Linked DNA regions of Homo sapiens: region 1 is linked to region 2. The links are contacts of gene promoters, found by promoter capture Hi-C in blood cells and fetal thymus (Javierre and others, 2016). All regions are on one chromosome and are shown on one strand. The core of a region is centred on a gene start or on the middle of the fragment in contact, and the rest is flanking DNA. Distances in the headings are between cores, read along the strand shown.

The links. Contacts are between HindIII fragments. The CHiCAGO score rates a contact against its expected background, and 5 or more counts as called.
Region 1: a fragment that was not itself captured here is called in contact with the fragment with the promoter of ADISSP in region 2 in 1 of 17 cell types (naive CD4 T cells); the score reaches 5.1 in naive CD4 T cells.

What each region holds. Positions count from the first base shown.
Region 1 is chr20:4,017,724-4,024,409 of GRCh38, reverse strand. It overlaps the pseudogene FTLP3. Among named protein-coding and RNA genes, the nearest start is that of RNF24, 5.5 kb to the right of the region's middle. The HindIII fragment of the contact is 1,376 bases long and covers 4,623-5,998 here.
Region 2 is chr20:3,766,281-3,771,131 of GRCh38, reverse strand. It overlaps ADISSP (adipose secreted signaling protein), which reads left to right and starts at 3,379. Exons shown (of 6, transcript NM_001258429.2): 1 at 3,379-3,469. RefSeq lists enhancers at 2,045-2,094, 2,756-3,342, 3,470-4,234 and a silencer at 3,245-3,484. The HindIII fragment of the contact is 5,584 bases long and covers 1-4,851 here.

The DNA of each region.
Region 1 (6,686 bases), core at 4,061-6,560, 250 kb before region 2:
ACTCGCCCAGCCCAGCCTCTGGGCCTCCCAGCCTGTGGAGGTTCGTCAGGTGGTCACCCATCTTCTTGATGAGCTTCACTTCCTCATCTAGGAAGTGAGTCTCCAGGAAGTCACAGAGATGGGGGTCCATGTGGGCAGAATCCAGGGCATGAAGATCCAAAAGGGCCTGGTTCAGCTTTTTCTCCAGGGCCATGGCAGCTTTCATGGCATCTGGGGTTTTACCCCACTCATCTTCAGCTGGCTTCTTGATGTCCTGGAAGAGAGCGCGGCCGCCACGCTGGTTTTGCATCTTCAGGAGACGCTCGTAGCCCTCGCGCTTCTCCTCGGTCAATTCGCGGAAGAAGTGGCTCACGCCTTCCAGAGCCGCATCATCGCGGTCGAAATAGAAGCCCAGAGAGAGGTAGGTGTAGGAGGCCTGCAGGTACAAATTGACCAGGCTGTTGACGGCTGCCTCCACGTCGGTGGAATAATTTTGACGAATCTGGGAGCTCATGGTTGGTCGCCAAGAAGGAGCTAACGACAAAAACGGTGCTGGCAGGTCCCAGAAGCAGGAGATAGCCGAGAAGATGGTCCCGGAGGTTGCAAGTGGAGAGGAAATTGGAGGGCGGTCGGAGGCTGGAAGACCGTCCCCGGATCTGTTCCGTCCAAACACTGTTGAAGCAAGAGACAGACCCACTGGACCGCCGAACTGCCTATCACCTCTTATTCTTAAAAATAAATCTTGGTTTCCTCCAACTTGCCTTTTTCTGTTTATTTTAATTATTAGTTTGCTTGCTTGTTTTGACTTGTTTTTATTGTTATTTATTTTCTATCTTCCATGTTAGCAGCTTTCCTCAGATATTTGGTAATCTGGTAATCTACAGTAGATGTTATTGGTGTTCTGCCCATACCTTCAGCTGCTATAAATCTCGGTCATAAATAGACCAGAGCTGCCACTTTATCTAAAGAATTGTCCTCAAGTAGGAACTACCTTGCCTGGGAATTCATGGCTTCCTCCCTGGCAGCCCACAGCCAGTGATTGATCAATATATGGATACAAAAGCTGGCCCTCTTGCTTCAAGGTGAGATCAACCCTGTGGTGCAATTCATGCTCCAGGGCTCCCTGTGGGTCAGACTGAGGCTAGACTCCAGCCAAGACCACATCCTTGCTCAGTTCCTTTCCATGCTCTTTCTGGAGGTGGAAAAAGGAGCTTCTTCTGAGGGCCCGCCCGCAATAAATCGCATGCATCTGAATCTGCATCACAGCTTCTGTTTCTAGGGAACCTAAGACATAATCTTTAGCTCTCTGCTCTTGATTAAGAGTAAAGGACTATGAAAAACCCTGAGTGCAGGAACTGGGCTTGTCAACTGTGATTCACCGTAGGGAGACATGGATGGTCGTTTACTGGAAATCTGAATGCCAGTATCCTTCATTCTTTCCCTTTTGGCTGGTCAGAGTGCTCAGAGAAGAGAGGTGGAGAGTAGCTGCCAGTGATTTGGGAAGTGATCAGAGAAGAAAGCTGAGGTTCTCAGCATGCAGTGAGGAAATAGTCACTTAACGCCCCTGTTCTCCACATGCCACCTTTGTCCTCAGCCACGCCTGGTGCCCCAGCCCAGAGATCCTCCTTTTTACTCTCTCCGGAGGTGAAATCTCCAGCCCTCTGCCTGATGAGAGAGAGAAACCTGCTGCTCGGAGAGTGGAAGAGGGGAACTAAGATTTTAACTGCTTCCCAATCACCTTTCACCCAGTTATCCTGATTCTTTGGCTTGCCCAGTACCAGAGATATCTAGGACTGCCAATTCCCATTTTTTTTTCTGTTTTTCTTTCTTTCCCCACCCCCCCTTGGATTTTGCCATGAAAATAGGGCTACTCTTAACTTTCCCTGGGTTTCAGCTTTCTTGGGGCTGCTGAGTCGATTACCACTCACCCATCTGTTTTCTATCTTCCAACTTATTTTTCCCCCACTATTGTCTACTCTGTTCTCTCTGTCCTCATGAGTTTGTGTCTTTAAACAAAATCCCTTTATAATAGTTTTAGTGAGTTTTGGGAGGAGCAAAAGTAGATGGGTGGATTCAATGCACCATCTTAACCTGGAAAAAAACTCCAATGGTATTAGGGAGATGTCTCCTCCCTGCATTCCCCTCCTTGTGAGCCCCTTTGGATGACAGACAGGCAAGTGAGAAACTAAGTAATGGAACCAAAGGCCTGGGATGGAAGCCGTGTCTCCCCATGGACAATGCTGTTCCACTACAGAATCCAAGCTTCTTCCCTCAGTCATGGCCTGAGTCAGCCTTTGAGGGAATAAAGGGCTGGAGTCCAGATTATGATGGCGTAGGTTGGAAGGGTAGGAAGCCAAGAAAAACTAAGGAAGCCTGCCTGGAGGAAGCACTGCAGCAGCAGGAAAAGCAGAAGATACAGAGTCTCTTTATCTGCATGGTGTCCTTATCTCCCAAATGAGAGAATTCATCTCTTCCAACTCTGCATCTATGACTCTGTGGGGATAAAAGTCACTCCAGAAAGCCTGTCTGCTTTCTTGCCCTGTTCCTCTTTCCCGTCTGTTGCTTTGGGATGAGGTGATAATGATTGGGAACTATTTGGGTAGATTGGATAGGTTGAAATGGAGGAAAAAGAAAACCAGCATAGTTCCTTTTTCCTAGAATGAGTTATGGGCAAAGATATATCATTCCACTTTATTCCTTTCTCTTTAAAGCTCAGGCCTAACAGAACCTAGCAGAGAGAAAAGGCAGTGATATAATTGGCTGGGGGAAATTGGAGGGGCAGAAGCTGTGATGATGGTGGTAGCCAAATGGTGGTCACAGCTGTGGGGGTTGTGTAATCAATAACTGGAGGAGCTTAGCAGAGCGGCTTGCTTTGTTCCATAGATGTAACTTGAAAGTACCCTCTGGGAGGCTGAGCTGGGCAGATCACTCAAGGCCAGGATTTTGAGACCAGCCTGGCCAACATGGCAAAACCCTGTCTCTACTAAGAATACAAAATTTAGCTGGGCATGGTGGCACACGCCTGTAATCCCAACTATTCAGGAGGCTGAGGCACAAGAATCACTTGAACAACCAGGAGGCAGAGGTTGCAATGAGTCTAGATGGCGCCACTGCACTCCAGCCTGGGTGACAAGAGTGAGACTCTGTCTCAAAAAAAGAAAAGAAAAGAAAAGAGGGCCAGGCGCGGTGGCTCATGCCTGTAATCCCAGCACTTTGGGAGGCCAAGGCAGGTGGATCACGTGAGGTCGGGAGTTCAAGACCAGCCTGACCAACATGGAGAAACCCCGTCTCTACTAAAAAAATACAAAATTAGCCAGGCATGGTGGCGCATGCCTGTAATCCCAGCTACCTGAGAGGCTGAGGCAGGAGAATCTCTTGAACCCGGGAGGCGGAGGTTGCAGTGAGCTGAGATCATGCCACTGCACTCCTGCCTGGGCAACAAGAGCGAAACTCCGTCTCAAAAAAAAAAAGAAAAGAAAAGCAACCAAGACACTGAAGTCAGTGGAGAAATACTCTGGCCTCCTGGTCATCCAGGCAGACAATGCTGAGGGCTGTTCTACAAGGTTTCTCAGTGGACGCCAAGCCAGACTGAGCCTCAGTTGCCCATGGCAGTAACTGGCCCATCAGCATACCTTACTGTTGGCTTCTCTCCCTTTCACAGCTTGCTTTCCCCATTTCTTCACTCTTATTTCCTGGAATCACCTCCCAAGTAAATTACCTACATCCAAGCCCTTGTCTTAAGATCTGTTCTTGGGAGAATCCACGCTGAGATGGGTATCCTCCAATCTAAAAGTGAGTCTGAGCAGGTTGTTCCACCCCTGGGAAATAGTGCTTCCAGTCTCCTGCATGTGTGGCTGGTCTCAGCTAAAAAGCTCCCACATGAGATCTTGAGAACATTTATATTTTCAGGAGTTCTGGGTGATTGGGCTTGTGTGTGCCAGAAAGGCAACGGGGCTTGTTGGTGGCTGGGTAAACAGAATCCCAGGTTCCCACCTCCTTCGCTGGCTTGTGGGTGGACACACAGCCAGTCCTAAAGGTACCATGCACACAGAAACCTACGCTTTCTCCCCAACTCTTGCTGTTTCACAGTCTTGCACACACATTCTGCATTAAGAAGCAATTCCGGTGGCTCATGCCTGTAATTCCAGCACTTTGGGAGGCCGAGGCGGGTGGATCTTGAGGTCAGGAGTTCGAGACCAGCCTGGCCAAGATGGTGAAACCCTGTCTCTTCTAAAAATACAAAAATTAGCTGGGCGCAGTGGCAGGTGCCTGTAATCCCAACTACTCGGGAGGCTGAGGCAGGAGAATCACTTGAACCCAGGAGGCGGAGGTTACAGTGAGCCAAGATTGCACCACTGCACTCTAGCCTGGGCGACAGAGAGACTTCATCTAAAAAAAAAAAAAGAAGAAGCAATTCCACCCCTCCGTGGGCAGCGTCACGCCCCAGCAAGAGGTCCCCATGGGCTATGAGGAGGAGAGGGCCATTGGGAGGGATCAAGGCAGGAGGAGTCACTTTGGAATTCTTGGATGAAGAGGCTCGGGGAACACAGAACATCTCCTCCTCTACTGGCACAGTCCAACGGGTCAAAGCATTATATGATCAACCCTTAAAGGGGTCATTTAGAACTCTGAATAATTAAGCTTTCAAAGGATTGACCAGTGGGAGGGATGTTTTTCTGAAATCGTGCCATCTCAACAGATGGGGAGGATGGACAGAGGAATGGGGCTATAGGCAACCTTTGATTTCTAGCTTCTGTTTGAAAGACTGATTTTGTCTTGACCAGTCAGGCATTCATTCAACAAACTTGTATTGGGCACCTGATCCAAAGATGACTAAAACCAGCCCCTGTTCTCACTGTTCCAAAATTAGTCAGACGTTTGATTTAAAAGTAGTTGTGATTTCTTTTCCAGGAGTCTTGAAGGACTTCTGACCATATGGGTAGGGACAATTTTCTGAGATGGATTTGGGGTGAGGACATTGCTTAAAAGGAGGTATAAGGGCTGGGCGTGGTGGCTTACACCTGTAATCCCAGCAATTTCGGAGGCCGAGGCAGGTGGATCACCTCAGGTCAGGAGTTTGAGACAAGCCTGACCAACATGGAGAAACCCCGTCTCTACTAAAAATACAAAATTAGCTGGGCGTGGTGGCGCATGCCTGTAATCCCAGCTACTCAGGAGGCTGAGGCAGGAGAATTGCTTGAACCTGGGAGATGGAGGTTGCAGTGAGCCGAGATGGCGCCACTGTACTCCAGCCCAGGCAACAAGAGCGAAACTCCATCTCAAAAAAAAAAAAAAAAAAAAAAAAGAGGTATAAGGGAGGAGATGGGAGGGGACTGTGGGGAGGAAGGATAAAGAGAAAGAGGGGCATCCTCCGAAACTCCAAACAGTGAAGTCTTCCCTACCCTACCCCTACCCATCATGTGGAACAAGGAAAATGTTAGCTGCGAAGCCACCACTTCAAGTCCTAGCTGCCTGCTGTTTTGAGGTACCCACCTAAACCCTCCAGAGAAAGAATTGCCCACCCACACTCTCCCATCACTTGCATTTTGCCTAGACCAGTGGGGGCTGGGAGTGGTGGGGGGATGAGTAGACTCATGTGCATCACTAAGCAAAGAGGATCAGGGACTAGCAGGTGAACCTCCAGCCGGAAGCACCAGGAGGACAAAAACTGTGATTTCTTCCTTAAGGGGAACACGGGACAACCCGCTACAGGGGACAGAAGAGCAGGATCCTGCCATATGTTGTAGAAACTGTGAGGCCAGATTCCACCTGTCCAGTCCCAAAGGAAAACTTTCTCCTTGACCCTAAAAACCAGTTGGGCCAGTTGATGACACAGCAAAATTTTAATAAGATGAGTCTCCCTGAAAACAGCAACTGGACACGGCCCCTCCTCCTTCCGTTCATTCTCTCATTCTCTTTCCCACTCACCCCTAATTTTTTCAAGAACAAAAGACATGAAATGAGCCACTCCATCCTCTACCCTACAGCCTGATTGGACTAGTGAATTACTAGCCAAGCTTTCTAAACAAACAAACAAAACAGGTTTCCAAACGCAGGGCAGAGGAAGGAAGCCAAAATAAGGAAGAAGAAAGAAAAGGAGCTCAGCCTTTCCTTCTCCTGTGGAGCCTCCCCAGCCCACCAGGGAACATCACCTCCACCAATAGCCACAGCAGACCCACTATGTGCCAGTCACATATTAGGTCCTGGGAGATACTGATCCTGCTGATGAAGGACTCACATGCTGGTGTGGTAAGAAAATATGCAAATGAGCAGGGACCTTGGAGGGTGCCTAGTGCTGAGAGGGAAGTGGGTACAGGGCACAGGTGGGGATTCTCAAGGAAAGTCTGTCAATAAGTGGGGGCAGAAAAAAATACTTTATCAAAAATGACTTTGTAAATACTTTACTTTTTTTTAGAGCAGTTTTAAGTTTGCCACAAAAGTGAGAGGAATGTGCAGAGTTCCCAACTAGCCCTTCCCCCCTACACATACATAGCCCCCCCATTATAAACATTCTCCCACGGGAGCATTTATTACTATTGTTGGACCTACATTGGCACATCATTATCACCCAAAATCCATGTTTACATTAGAGTTTGCTGCTGGTATTATTCATTCTATGGATTTAGACAAATGTGTCATGACAGGTATCCACCATTATGGTATCATACACAGAGTATTTTCACTGCCCTAAAAAGCATCTGTGGATT
Region 2 (4,851 bases), core at 2,130-4,629:
GGTTGTAGAGAGCTGAGATCGCACCACTGCATTCCAGCCTGGGTGACAGAGTAAGACTCTGTCTCAAAAAAAAAAAAAAAGTGGAATTACTCATTTCATTTATCATTTTTATTAGGTACTGCCAAGCAGTTTTCCAATGAGGTTATAGTTGTTTAATTTTTAATTAAAAAGAATAGAGGGCTGGGCACAGTGGCTTGTGCCTCTGGTCTGGTCCCAGCACATTAGGAGCCCAAGGTCGGGGGATCGCTTGAGGCCAAGAGTTTGAGACCAGCCTGGGCAACATAGTGAGACCCTGTCTCTGAAAAATAAAAAAAAAAACAAAAAACCGTGTGTTTGGAGTTGTAGCAAGTGTTGTGTTTTTTTGTTTTTTTTTAAAAGTCACCAGGTTCTCATGGTGAGTGGATTTTTTTTTTTTTTTTTTTGGAGATGGAGTCTGGCTCAGTCGCCCAAGCTGGAGTGCAGTGGCGCAATCTCGGCTCACTGCAAGCTCCGCCTCCCGGGTTCACGCCATTCTCCTGCCTCAGCCTCCCGAGTAGCTGGGACTACAGGCATCAGCCACCATGCCCGGCTAATTTTTTGTATTTTTAGTAGAGACGGGGTTTCACCGTGTTAGCCAGGATGGTCTTGATCTCCTGACCTCATGATCCGCCCATCTCAGCCTCCCAAAGTGCTGGGATTACAGGCGTGAGCCACCACGCCCGGCCGTGAGTGGATGTTTTATACGTGCTCCATCTGTTCTCCTAACCTGGAGTTGTTCCTGATTCTTCTTGTCCTGCCTCTGTCTCCAGGGGGCCTGGTAGGGGCCTGTGGTTTCCCTTGCAGAGCCATCTATCTTTGGTAAGGCCCTCCGCACAGGAAGCCCCAGAGCCTGGGCACTACTCGTGTGGTAACACAGACACATTGGGCAGTGATGGGGCAGCCAGGTAACTCCTGCCCTGACTTCCTCCTGACACAAAGAGTCTAATTTTCTCCTGGAGGCTTTCCAGAACCATCTTTGGCCTTCCCTGAGAGCATGTAGTATCCCTAGGCATGGGCAGCTCTGTATTTCAGCTCCTCCCAGTGGGCCAGACTGCCCGATGCCTGGGAGTGTGAGGAACATTTGGCAAGGACAGGAGACCACAGTTCTTTGTGTGTGGTGTCCCTCCTACACTAAACTGTGAGTGCCTTCCACTCCACAGAGCCTAGCACAATAACTTACTCATCAGATACATTCAGTAAATGTTTGCTGAAAGGAGTTGACAATTCGGAAATAACCCCGGGCTGTGCAGTTAGCAGCCAGTTTGTGTTTGAGAGAGCCCACACCAGAGATGGTTTTGAGAAGTTGGCTAGAAAGACTTTTGAAAAAGGCAGGCTTGGGCCAGGCGCGGTGGCTCATGCCTGTAATCCCAGCACTTTGGGAGGCTGAGGCAGGCAGATCACTTGAGGCTAGGAGTTTGAGACCCACCTGACCAACATGGTGAAACCCTGTCTCCACTAAAAATACAAAAATTAGCCCTGGGTGTGGTGGCGCGCACCTAGAATCCCAGCTACTTGGGAGGCTGAGGCAGGAGAATGGCTTGAACCCGGCGGGGGAGGGGGTGGAGGCTGTAGTCAGCCGAGATGGCACCACTGAACTCAAGCCTGGGCGACAGAGTGAGACTCTGTCTCAAAAATAAATAAATAAATAAATAGGCAAAACTTATCTTGGTTGAAGAGGGCTTGAATTTTGGCTATGAGAAGAGAGCGGGGAGGGCCTTCCAGGTTGGAAGGTGGGATAATGAGGGGGAGGGGATCACAAATGTCTGCACAGACCCAGAAGGTAACTAACCGTGAGAAACAGGGATTAGCGGGGACTATGGTAAATTTATGTGCTCTTAAAGGGGCTTGTAATGCCAGGCTGGAAAGTGAGCCCATGTTGTCAGATCTTCTGATATTTCAAAAGCCACGAAACCAGATTCCTGATTCCAGAAAGAGGCGGAGGAGGCAGGAGGGGGAAGGACTTCTTTTAAAAAGCCCCATGTGAGCTAAACAAAATACACCTACGGGCCACTTTGGGCCCACCGTCTGCCAACTTTAGACTTTCAAGACAAGGTCTAAAGGTAGTGTGGTGGGAGTGGGTAGAGTGGGCAGGAGTGGATGGGCTGAGATCAGAATGTGAAAAGCTCTCAATGTAAGCGCTGTCTCTCAAACGCGAGGGCACATGAGTCACCCAAAGTGCTGCTGAAGTTTGTGAAGCGCTACTGGAGGCAGTCCCAGAGGGCTTTGGAGCAGGAGAGGGACGCGATGAAAACAAGAGCTCAGAAAGATTAATTTGCCAACAGTGTGCAGACTGGAGATCAGCAGACAGGTTATGGGCCACAGGGTGGCAGACTTGAGGGCTCCTTTAAGGCAGCGACCCCGGCCCTGCTGAAGGGAGGCTGGCCTTCGGCCGCCCAGGCCGTCTCTCTAGTTCCGTTGGAAGCAAGGCGCTGCGTGCTCCGGACGGCTTACTGAGGGCACTTTGGGGAATCCGTCCCCACGGGCGAAGTATAGGTGGGGTGTTCGCGAACCGGCGGGCGGAGAGCACCGGCAAGAACCCCCGCAGACCGGAGGGCCACGCCTCTCGCTCCTCGGCTCATTGCAGGCGCCCACATCCCACCCCGCGGTGCTGAGCGAGGCGCATCTCGCTGCCATGGCGACCGCCTCCATGGAGACCGGGAGCAGAGGCTGCGGTCCCCGGGGGCGCGTCACAGGCTCTCCCAGCCCCCAGCCCGCGTGCCTTCTTTGTTCTGATGCTTCTCCAGGCCGGGCCAGGCACCCGGGACGCGTCTCGGGCCCGCACGGGGGTTGCTTCTTTCGAGACAGGGGATGGGGTGGAAGGGGAAGAGGTCCAAACCCTGGGGTCGAAACAGGAGTGATGGAGGGTTCCTCAGCTCCTGAACGAGACCAACACGGCCCGTATCGATGGCCGAAGCCGGCGTGGAAGCCCAGGGAGAAAGGCCACCTTCGGGAGCTCCACCCAGCCCCGAGACGCGCCCGACAGCCCTCCCGAGAGCGAAGGGCCCAAGGGAGGTGCGTCCTAAGCAAGGTTCAAGGCTAGAGGCGCTATCCCCCAGGCGGAAGAAGGAGCGGGGGCGGGGCCTATCCGAGGCCCTCCTTCTCCCTCTTCGAGTGGTCGGTTCTGGCCCCTGGCCTAGTTGGGCCGCCTGCCCGTCTTCCTCGCGAGAGCTCGCCCGGCAGGCGCGGACTAGCAGGGCGCTGCCTCGGCGACCCTGGCACGTGACGTAGGCGGCCCTCGCCAGTTGGCCGTTCTTTGGAGCCCGCTCATTGGTCCGGAGCGTCCCTCGCCCCACCCTCCCAGATCAACCAATGGGCGGAGGCGGGGGCGTGCCGACGGGAGGGCGGCCGCGGCGCGGGGCTCCCTTCCTCGTGCTCGGCGTTGAGCTCCTGCAGCCGCCGCCGCTGCAGTGGTCGTCCCTGCCCTCCCCGGCCCCGGGGTGCACCCCGCAAGGTGAGGCCACCCCTCTGCTCCCTGCCTCCCGGTTCCTTCCCGTTCGCCGAGGTCCCCTCCCGGTCCCGGCCCTGTCCTGAGCAGTCAGTGCCTGGGACCCCAGCGGCCGTGATGGCAGGGCTGGGGTGGGGGGCTCCGCTGTCGGGGCCGGGCCTGGAGGACTCCCCAGCACCTGAACTAGAGTGATGTCAGGTTCCCGGGGCGCAGTGACCGTTAGCTGGTGCAGCTGGGGTGTTTTCCGCGAAGCGATTGTCCGGGGGCATGAGTGCGGTAGTGAGGGCGGGGGCGTAATGGGGTCAGCGCCCCCTCCTCCCCACGACCCTGTTCATTGCCGCTGCCTCGCTGCATGACCTTGGACCAGTAGCATCTCTGAGCCTCCGAGCCTCAGCACCCTCAGGAAGGAGGGCAGTGATGTCTGGGAGTGCGGGCTCCGGAGACTCCTGCGTCAGCCGAGGTGAGTGAAGGTGGGGAGTGCACAGGATTATCTCCGAGGGACAGAGCCGCCGCCTCGCAGCTCAGGATGGATTGGATGGGGGGGATGTCCGATTACATTTCCCCCCTCCCCCTGAGATGACAAGAATGGGGTGTGGCGGGGGTGCCACACCCACAGGGATGGCTGCCGGAGAGGATAAAGGGTCCTACACCTGGACCCTTGGGGCCTCGGGGGCTTGGGCTGCACCTCCCTCCCGGTGGTATGAAGGAGGAGGGACTGGATTTAGGTTCTGGACCCGTGTTTCCATTAGTAAGCAGGGACTGAGAAAGGGAAGTCTCCGCTTGCCTTTCTTCTTGAATCTTGGCACTGGAAAGTGGAGGTAGGGCATTTTTCTGCTCCGGGGAGTTGAAGAAAGTCGGGGCAGCACCCCATCCCTCTCCCATTCTGGTCTTTTGTGGAGGGAAAATGTAGCTGGATATCCCCCCACATTCTATCCATCCTGAGCTACGAGGCAGCAGCCCTGTCCCTGGGAGATAATCCTGTGTGCTCCCACCCTCACCTTGGCTGACCCCCTGGATCCAGCCTGGCCTCTGCTTCTTGGGACCTCTGGATCACAGGCCCAGGGCAGGGCCTAGGTGGGGCATGCTATCTGGAGGCTAAGCACCCACTAGCTGAGGGCAAAGTGGGGAGAATGCTGGGCAGAGGAGGGCAGCACTTGTTGGGGAGGCAGGAAGGTGTGGGTGGTGAGGGTCCCTTCTCCATATTCCCCCACCCCCACCCCCAGCACCTCACTGTTAGAAGGAGAGAGAACAGCCATACTTATCTTTGCACCTTTGGCCCACTGGAGGGAGAAGGAAATTAAATCACATTAAAGCTGAGTTGATGTGAAGCTGCCACAACTACTGACCTCCAGCCTTGCCTTTCCAGGCTTTGTTCTGAGTATGTGTGG